Regions from separate parts of the Homo sapiens genome. Here all the other regions are linked to region 2. The links are contacts of gene promoters, found by promoter capture Hi-C in human tissues and cell types (Jung and others, 2019). All regions are on one chromosome and are shown on one strand. The core of a region is centred on a gene start or on the middle of the fragment in contact, and the rest is flanking DNA. Distances in the headings are between cores, read along the strand shown.

Region 1 (3,606 bases), core at 87-2,586, 630 kb after region 2:
CCCATCTACTCAGGAGGCTGAGGCAGGAGAATGGTGTGAACCCGGGAGGCGGAGCTTGCAGTGAGCCAAAATCGCGCCACTGCATTCCAGCCTGGGCAACAGAGCAAGACTCCGTCTCAAAAAATAAATAAATAAATAAATAAAATAAAGAAGCACAAGGATATATTCTAGAATATCAAATATGGAAACCAATGATGTAAAAGCCTGGAAATTCTATCTCAAATAATCTAAAATGGATATAGATATTGCAAAGCAGGGTCACTGGTTACCAACTTGTCTGATTCTGATGAGATAGAACACCTAACACAAATTACATAAAGCAAATTTATTACTTACAGATAGACAAGGGAAAATAGAAGCCTAGAATCCATTGCATGCTAGACCCCCAAGGCTCAGAAAAGCTGCCCAGAGCAAATGAAGTCTTGATGACATATGCCCCACTTGTATCACAGCTGATATCACTTGTATCACACCAGAAAGGGGTCTGCTTTGGGTTTAATAGCCTCTGATCATGTGAATAGCTGGGATAGTGCATTGAGAGATATCTTCTTTCTAAGGTTGGACTGAACAGTTCTAGCCAGCCCTCCCTGTCTCAGGAGGTTACATTCCCAGCATATTCTATAGTTATTTTTGAGAAGCACAAATAATAATAAGAAAAGCCCTGAACTGAACTGTAGGTAGTATAGCAGAAATGGAGAAACAGCATGAATCTAAGTACAAAAGCCTTGACTAGATGGTTCAGGGGCTTGTAAACCATTCTTAACGAATTTTTAAATTTACTTTAGGAGCCTTAGGGAGCCTTTGCAAAGTTTTAAGTAATGGGAAGACATAATTAGATTTACATTTAAGAAAGATTATGCTGTATGCCTTGTGGAGAATAGATTTGATTCACAGAAATCTCTGGAAACCAAGCATGTTTGAATAAACTGCACATAAATCCTACGTGAGTTGGCAAAAGACAGATTTTATCTCAGTCTTCAGAGATGGAGCCGAAGATTGAAGACTAAACCAGGAACTGGGCACAAATACAAGAGGACCACATTTCTGTGTTGCACAATTTGGTCATTTGTGGATGGATGGTGTTTTTTGGGTCACAGGCAGGAATACTCCCTGTGTCTCTGCAGAAACAATAAGAAGTGAAGCTCTGCTACAATGGGTTAAAAAGGGAATGGGAGGTAAAGAAGTGAAGACTGTCAATTTAAACAGCTCTTTCAACAAGGGAGCATTCAACAGAATGAGTTGAGAGGGAGAAGCCTATAAAGAGAAAAGCAGCAGTCTTCTAGTTGCCAGACCCCAGCTTCTCTTTTTTCAGTTTCAAATGAATGAGAAGATTAGCAAGAGGATCCTGAAAAGGTTTACCATTTAGGTTTAAAGAGAATCCTGAGATTCAAAAGGGCATCGTGGTAAGAATTGGTAGGGGAATCAGATTAGGATGGGAGAGAAAGAAACAATATCAGAAGGATTTAAATTTTATAGGGGTGACCAAAGATTGAGCAGCATAGACAGGAATAGCTGCCCTAAAGTACGTGAGTGGAAATCAATCAGGTGATAAGATGTATTAGAGGGGCTGTGCTTCAGCATATTGTCGTGACAAGATGATAAAAGAGCATTGCTTAAATCTCAGTGTGTCACAGCTAGCTAGCTACTGCGGAGTCATGAAGAAGAAAGAAGGGAGACACAATATTTAATACTGGGGGAGATTATTTGCACAGCTCAGGCACTTAAATGTTTCTCAGGAGTTTTAAGTGATGCTCTTATTTCTCAAGATAAACATTTCCAAAAGAAACAGAAACATTAAAAAAAAATCAAGAAATGAGAAAGTGAAACTTTGGGCCAAAACCAATCTGCAAAGATTTCAAAAATCTAGTGTCATGCACCCCAAAATCTACTTTTAGTCTAACTGAGGTATACATTAATAACAAGAAAAAATATTTTCAAACTTCATAATTTGGAAATTCCAAACACAACCGAATGACTCAAAGGCCAAGAGAAAAATCACAAAAGAAATTATAAAATACTTAGAACTGAAAGATAATAAAAAGCTTTATATCAAAACTTTTGAACTGTAGCTAAATCAACATTAAAGGAAATCTGTAACCTTTATATGTTTTTATTAGAATAGGAGGAAACGTGAATGTCAGTAAATAAGCATACAACTTGAGAAGTTAGAAAAATGTCAACCAAAAAATAGAAAAAAATAAAATAAAGATGAGAAGGGCAATAATTAATGGGAAAAGAGGAACTATGGCAAAATAAAGAGGATCAAGAAAAGCAAAGCTTATGTGTTGAAAACATTAATAAAACTGACAAACCTTAGGCAAAACAGATTATGAAAGAGAAAGGGGAAAAGAGACAGAAATGGCATATATAAACAATACTAAAAATTTTAAGAGTATAATAGAGATTTTAAAAAATAAGTTAATACTATGTCTCTATGCCATTAATTTGAGAACACGTAAAATGGACATATTCTTAGAAAAATACAAATTTCCAAAACTGACTCAATATTAAATAGAAAAACACAAATTGTTATAACATTAAAGAAAATAAGTCATTTAAAAACTACCCAAAAGGATTTACCACTGAGTTGTACCAAATTTTAAAGAAAAAAAAATCCCACTTACACAAATCTTTTCTGAGATAAGAAAAGGGAAATATTCTACTGCACATTTTATGATACGGGTGTAACTTAATACCAAAATTAGCTACAGGCAAAATGGAAACAGAAAAGTATAGACCACTCACTCATGTACATAAATGCAAGAGTTCTAACAAAATATTAGCAAGCTAAATTTAGAACTATATAAAAAATGATGCGTCATGATTAATTTGAGCTCATCATAGGAATGCAAGATTGATTCTACACTAGAAAGTATATTAATTAATTTAACTACATTGACAGATTAAAGAGGACAATCCTATGTACCTAGATGGCACATCTCCTAAGTGAATAGTGCAATTTCTGCACCGCTTTTTAAAATAAAGTTGCTTGCCTTGGACTTCCTCACTCTTTTGCCCTTCCCTGGTCCAGAATGTGGACATGGTGGTAATCCAGAGAAAGGCAAAGCAATCAGAAAGCCAGCACGTAAGTTCAGGGAAAATGGAAGATTGGATGTTTGGGAGACATTTCAAGATTTATCCACTTGGTTCTCAACTTCCACCTTGTTTTACAGATGAAGAGAATGGGTGAAGAAGAATTAGTAAAAAATTTTATTTGCTATAGTCAAATATCCATTCTATGTATTTCAGGTATAGCCCAGAAACATGGGGTGAGGTGGGGTGGGTAGAGAATATCTGTGACAGCCAAGTGGACGTAACAATACTCCCCTTTCAAGGTTGTCATGAGAATTAAGATTAGGTGACATATGTAAACTATTAGCATAATGCCAGAGCTATACTAGGGCACAGCCACTAATGTTGGTTCTATTTCTTCTTTCTCTGTTCCCTATCCTCCTTCTCTTTCTTTCCTGAGGCTCACAATGCCCTCAGGCTGTCGTGGATTCCGCATTTCCATATCCTCACATTCCTCCTGAAGTCTGACTCACCAGACAGTTGTCAAGATTCTTCAATCTGGGCACCTGAAGTGGTACTACCTAATTCCTTCAT
Region 2 (3,436 bases), core at 272-2,771:
ATTTAAGATCTGGGGAAAAAGGTATGTCTCTGAACCAGTTTGAGTGGATTTTTCCAAATGAAACCTCAAATAGCATTTATATTTAAGCCCTAACAAACACTTGGGAAGATTTGAAGTTAAAAGCAAATTGTGGTGGGGGTACAGCACAGGTTTTGTGGTTTGGTTTTGTTTTGCTTTTTAAATAAACACAGTCCACAAAAACCCATCTGCCTTCACCTGGAAGGACCAGTTCTTTAATTAAAAAAACGCTTTGGCTTCGGTTTCACTGGGAAACTAAAGCCAGAGCCCCTAAACTTTTCTCTCCGCAGATCGGGTGAGCTGGGGAGGGTGCTCATCCACTTCATTGCAGGGGGAAGTACAGCCTGGAACCCCTTTCGGGATACTGTCATTTGCCCCTTCTTCCCATCTCTTACTCTATCCTCAGAACCAGTATGAGAGTTTTCTGGGGCTAAGGCAAGGGGCAGTGGGGTCAGGCGCTGGAAGGACTGGTTTGCAAAGAGATAAGCTTTGGAATGAAGCCGCACAGCTGAAAACTCGCGGCAAGACATGCTCGCGCTGTGGCGAGTCAGTTCGAGAAGCATTTATCCCTACTCCCCTTAGCTTTCTGAGCAGCATTTGCAGTCAGGTGCAAACAGATCGCATATTTGGCGCAAAGAGCCCTGAGGATGAGGGACGTGGGATCATTCCCCGGTTTCCCCCGGGCCAGGTGCTAGGTCGTTTGAGGAGGAACTGTTCTCCAGTTCTCAACGCCTGCAAAGGCGGCTATAGGTGGCAAGCGGAGCTGTCCAGCACTAGTGAGGAGCCAGCGGAGCCGGGAGCCCCGCGCACCCCGCCCGGCTGAGGCTCAGCAACAGTGCTGTCTTGTCAGAGCAGACGCTGTCCTCACTGCCGCCCCTTTCTGGGCTCGCTCCGCGCCCACACGGCCTCGCACGAGGCGGGGAACACAAGTCCCCAGGAGCTGCTCCAGCAGGATGGGCGCCAAAATGTTGCCCCTGTCCTTCCCTTCCCCTGAAAGCGTCTCCTCTGGAGTGGGCTGGCTGGACGCTTGGCCTTTCCCTTTTGCCTCGGAACTTCCTAAATAAACTCGGAGAAAGGACAACATGGACCCTAACCCCCACTTCACACTGTCAGGTTTCCCCAAGGTGGCTCCAGGGGGAGGCCTCTCGCCCCCCAGCCCCGAGCCCTTCTCCCCACCAGCGCCGCCGGGACCCATCTGCTCCCGAGGGCCGAGGATAAGGCGTTTGGGGTTGGGGCCCTCAGTCCGACCCGAGCTCCTGTGCGCACCTCCTCGGAGCAGGGAGGGCGCGCAGAGGACAGCAACGAAGTGTCCTCGTTGCTCCTGAAACGTGGCGACAGGCGAGGCAGAGACTCCCAATGAGTATGATGGCGACACGTGATTCCCGCGGAGGGAGAGCATGGGGGGGGGCGGGGGGATAAAGGGAGAAGGAGGGAGGCAGGGCAGCAAGTGGAGAGAGGCGGGAGCAGAGAGGGAAAGGGGGCGAGATAGGCGCGCAGGCGGCAGAAGCCTCTGCCTCTGCCTCCCCTTCTGCTTGGGCCGCAGCCCTCCCCGCCCCGCCGACCGCGGTCACACACTCTCGGAGCCTCCCCGTGAGCGGGAGCGCGGCGCACGGCGATGCGCCGAGGCGGGCGCTGAGGCGGCGCCGCGCGAGCAGCAGCAGAGGCGGCGGCGGCCCCCAGCCCAGCCCGGCGCCGCCGCCGAGCCCGGGCCCCAAGGTGCGGCGGCGCCCCAAGTTCCCGCCATGAGCAGCCGGCTCGGGGGGCTCCGCGGCCCCGGGGACTCCCGCCCCGCCGGGCGCGACCGCAGCGCCCCGCGGCCCCGACGCGCTTAACGTTGTCGCTTGCCGGTCCCGCCACCGCCGCCTCCGCCGCCGCTCGCGTCCTCGCCGCCACCGCCTCGGCCGCTGCAGCTCCGCCGGCAGCATGTCTCGAAGGAAGATTTCGTCCGAGTCCTTCAGCTCCCTGGGCTCCGACTACCTGGAGACCAGCCCGGAGGAGGAGGGGGAGTGCCCCCTGTCTAGGCTCTGCTGGAATGGCAGCCGGAGCCCGCCCGGGCCGCTGGAGCCCAGCCCGGCCGCAGCTGCCGCTGCCGCCGCCCCGGCCCCGACCCCGGCTGCTTCTGCCGCCGCCGCCGCTGCCACTGCCGGGGCCAGGAGGGTGCAGCGCCGGAGGCGGGTCAACCTGGACTCGCTGGGCGAGAGCATCAGCCGCCTGACGGCGCCCTCGGTGAGCGGGGGGCGGAAGGGGGGACCGCCTTCGGGGGAGAGAACGCGGATCTGTAAAGTTGGCGCTGGGCGAGCCGGGGCGCGAGCGCAGAGCCCGACCGCTGGGGGGCGGCCCGGCCTTACCCTGCACGGCCTAGGGTTCCAGTGGCTCCGGCGACAGAGGATCCCCTAGGCTAGGGCGGAAGAGGGGACTACAGCACTGGGAAGGAATAAGATTCCACTCCTTTGGGGTATCCTGATTCGGGGGCCTGTCTGCCCACCTCTAGCCTTGAACCCTACTTCACCACTGTTCCCCCTGGACAGCCCCAGTGCTGCTTCACACCCACCTGTTTTCTTTCCCCTAAACTTTCCCAGGCACTGTGTTCTGCAGTTCAGCTTCCCTGTCTTTCATCCTGTTCTCCAGCATCCCAAAGGAGCCCCAACCCCTTCCAGGAAACCCTTCCTCTCCTTATTTCCCACACTCTCTTGGTCTTAGCGTGACCTTCTCTGACATCTTTGAATTCCACAGGCTATCTGCATTCTATGTTGCATCCTTTTTCTCACATCTTCAGATACTTTTTGCCAGATACTTTTCTGAGTTGCCTTCTGTTCAAGTAATCTCTAATCTCGAGTTGTCCTCACCCCGTAGCTTTTTTTCTTTTTCTTTCTTATCCACTAGGCATTTATTCTTCTCTGGGTAAACCTGGTGTCTGGATTTCTTTTTTTTTAAATTAAATTTAATTTAAAGTCCCGGGTTACATGTGCAGGATGTGCAGATTTGTTACATAGGTACCAAACGTGTGCCATGGTGGTTTGCTGCACCTACTAACTCATCACCTAGGTATTAAGCTTCGCATGCATTAGCTATTTAAACCGCTCTGTACTTCTTGCACCTGTACCTCATCCTTTACTCTCTCCTCAATGGATTCTCTAGTGCTTTCTCTCTCACATTAGCTATTTAAACCTCTCTGTACTTCTTGCACCTGTACCTCATCCTTTACTCTCTCCTCAATGGATTCTCTAGTGCTTTCTCTCTCACATTAGCTATTTAAACCGCTCTGTACTTCTTGCACCTGCACCTCATCCTTTACTCTCTCTTCAATTGATTCTCTAGTGCTTTCTCTCTCATTTTTTGGTGGCTTCTTTATATTAGGCCCTTCCTAAATATTTGTGGAATGAATAAATGCCTCTCCAAACTTGTGGTCATCTTGGGA
Region 3 (3,296 bases), core at 654-3,153, 550 kb after region 2:
TCTTAAACTTCATCACTTTTGTTCAATTGCCTTGAGATCAAAACAGTGACTACAACAGTCATTCCTAACACTTGGCATTTTGAACAATGCTGCATATTGAACAAACTACAAATGTCGGCAATTTCATAGAGTTTATTTTATTCAGTCCACATGTAGCTAATTTTTTCAGCATAACAATTAGCTACAATTTTGATTACATTCCACATATTTATGCTCTTTGTGTCTTTTCATTGATTTTTCTTTGTTTCAGAACATTTGTTTCATTTTCTAATTTAATGTTGATTAGAGATTAAAGCAATGTGAAAATGTATCATTTCTACTCTGCCAGAAACTAAAGTCTGAATATTTCCTGATTTTTTTCCCCTTAGTGTGAATCATTTATCAGTTTCTCTTAAAGGGCATGTAGTAACTATTTAGATAAAATTCAGTGTGAAACATTTAGAGATTTAGGAAACTCTAGAAGTCTTATCTTCTATACTTAGTTCCTCTTAACATTACAGACTATCAAATAGAAATATCATCGTTAACTTCCATTTCTTTTTGCTTATTTTTTCAATTCATAGGTTTTAAATATTTATATTGATAAAGAATACTAATGCTCTAAAATACTGAGAAAAATACTAAAACATTGGCTGATTACAGCAAGCTTCCTCTGCTACTTAAGTCTCATATCAATAACCAGTTCTAATGAAATTTATTTCAGGCATGTCACAGCACAATAAAAAAAAATTCCATTATTATGCAGTAGCTATGATTATCTGGCTAGAACTTAGTTTGACAGAACGGTTAGCTGGTCAAAAAGAAATGTTTTTGCTCATAATAGTTTTTACTGATTTTCAAAATCTTGACTTCTCTGCCTGCCTTCCTTTCTCCCTACCATTCGTATTTCCTTCAGACCTTTTTTGAATCTCATATATTTACTGGCTAACTGACTTTCTAGATATAAGTTGTGTAGAAAAGAACTCGTTTCCAATGAAAAAACATCCATTTAGTTTGTAAAGAGGCTAACTTAACTCTCAGTTCTCCAAGAGCTCACTCTTCTGAAACTTCCACTCCAGTCAGGGACAAACACCATGCAGCCCCAATGAAACAGCCCACTATGTAGGAACAGACTTAAGCATAATGAATGGAGGCTGGAAAGGGCTGGGAGCAGCTGGACTTTTCATTCTTTTCCTGAGTCTTCCTCTGTTGACAGTGTTCTGACAAATCCCTAGGATGCCACTGGGTTCCCAGGAAAAAAAAAAAAAGCAGAAAAAGAAACTTTTAAATTAGTCCTTTAGTTGGTTTAGTGCACATTAACCACTTGATGATAGTATAAATAGTTGTGAATGAGCAGTGTGTAAGACCGCTGAGCTAGAAGATTTCATATTTTCAGGCAGCCACAAAATAAGTTCTACCAAACAATTAACCCAAAGCTAAATGCGGCAAGAGAAAAATATTTCTAGATGAACGCATTGACTATTCTTTAACTTTCACCCATAGTTAACAGCATTTCATATCACCTCTGCAAACACATCAGAGAAATAATTCTAGTTCGGGAGTCAGAGCCAGCTATTTTTGTAGCTGGAACACCATTTATGCCTCCTTCACAGCATTTATCAACATTGCATTCACATGATTGTTTGGTGACTCACTGCCTCTCCAGACCCTAAGATCTTCAACAAACAGGACCATATTTTGTTATACTGACTGCCTTATCTCCAGTTTTGAGCATAAGCAGGCCAGAAATAAATATTTTTGAATGAGTGAATAGAAGTGTTAATGAAAAGAGTCAAACTCTGTAAAATACTGGAAGAGATTTATTTTGAGCCAACAATGAGTGACCATGCCCCATGGCACAGCCCTCAGAAGGTCCTGAGAACATGTGCCCAAGGTGGTTGGGGTACAGCTTGGTTTTATGCAGTTTAGAGAGATATAAAACTTCAATTAAATACATTTAAGAAATACGTTGGTTTGGTCCAGAAAGGTGGGACAACTTGAAGTGGGGGCTTCCAGCTTATAGACAGATTTACAATTTTTCTAGTTGACAATTGGTTGAGTTTATCTAAAGACCTGGAATTAATAGAAAGGAATGCCTGGGTTAAGATAAAGGATTGTGGAGACCAAAGTTCTTATTTGCAGAGGAAGCCTTCAGGTAGTAGGCTTCAGAGAAAATAGGCTGTAAAAAGTTTCTTATCAGACCTAAAGTATGTGTTGATGTTAATGATGGAGAGGTATAATGAGGCATACCTGATCCCCACTTCCCATCATGGCCTGAACCAGTCCTTCATGTTAAGTTTTAAGAGTGCCCTGGCTGAGGAGGAAGTCCATTCAGGTGGTTGAGGTGGGTGTAGAATTTTATTTTTGGTTTACAGATTAAATAAGTGAGTAAAATATGATTGAGAGGTCAGTCCAAGTCTTAACAATATCCATAGAAAATATGGAATACATGGCAGTTGTTTATCACACAAATAGGAGGGAAGATACACACCAAAAAAATCTATCATCTTCATGCTCATTTGTAATGTGTTGGCAAATATATTAACTTTTATCAAATGTCTTATCCTTAATCAAAACAAATATGTGTTCTCAAAAGCTTCTTTTTCTGTATGTTTGTGTTTTAATACTTAACAGAGGTGCATTAAAAAACCTTAATTATACACAATTTTCTAATTCTGTGTTAATTTATTCAGACATTTCAACATGAGAGCACCTGGATGAATTTTTAAATGAGGGTCCTTGCTTTTCTTCTTCCCTGCCTCCCCCCACCCCGCATAATATCATTGAACTCATCTTTTGTTAATTGCAAACAGTCTCCAATCTATATTGATCCTGGGTTCGTATGTTTACTCAGAAAATAGAAAAACGTGCTCCCACACTGCTGATTGCAATACAAATTAAGCACCAGCTGGGTTTGTGAGTCACTGGTTAAGGATTACTGCAGCCTTATAGCACAGCGTAATTCCAGTGGTGAGATCAATCACGTAAAATAAACACTAAGCATGAGCAGAAGAGTTTTTTTCTGAGGGGTTTCAGAAGTGAGGAAGAAAAGTTGTGAACAAAAATAGAATTGAAGGAGGCCATCTTTAGCTGACCATCACTGCTGTTTTAACTTTCTTGCTTATGAAAGGCTGTTTCTTTTCAAGAGTAATAGAGACACACTCGGTGTGTTAGTGCCATTTGTCTAACTCATGGCAGCCTGTGAGGAACTCAAAAGGGAACATCTGAAGACAAAGCAGCTGACTGGAAGTCTTAGCTCTGCTACTTCCTTGCTCATTTCATGACTCGGAATAACTACTAAGTGCCTTTGAGTCTTA

The links. Contacts are between HindIII fragments. The study calls those that stand out against the background at their distance.
Region 1: a contact is called between a fragment that was not itself captured here and the fragment with the promoter of GUCY1A2 in region 2, in 1 of the 25 tissues and cell types used here (hippocampus).
Region 3: a fragment that was not itself captured here is called in contact with the fragment with the promoter of GUCY1A2 in region 2 in 2 of the 25 tissues and cell types used here (H1 embryonic stem cells and dorsolateral prefrontal cortex).

Annotation. Positions count from the first base shown.
Region 1 is chr11:106,381,997-106,385,602 of GRCh38, reverse strand. The region is part of intron 2 of LOC105369474 (a long non-coding RNA gene); the gene reads right to left. Among named protein-coding and RNA genes, the nearest start is that of LINC02719, 250 kb to the right of the region's middle. The HindIII fragment of the contact is 6,435 bases long and covers 1-3,606 here.
Region 2 is chr11:107,016,561-107,019,996 of GRCh38, reverse strand. It overlaps GUCY1A2 (guanylate cyclase 1 soluble subunit alpha 2), which reads left to right and starts at 1,521. Exons shown (of 8, transcript NM_000855.3): 1 at 1,521-2,244. The coding sequence starts at 1,942. RefSeq lists a silencer at 1,998-2,127. The HindIII fragment of the contact is 5,267 bases long and covers 1-3,436 here.
Region 3 is chr11:106,466,609-106,469,904 of GRCh38, reverse strand. No RefSeq gene overlaps it. Among named protein-coding and RNA genes, the nearest start is that of LINC02719, 340 kb to the right of the region's middle. The HindIII fragment of the contact is 3,583 bases long and covers 112-3,296 here.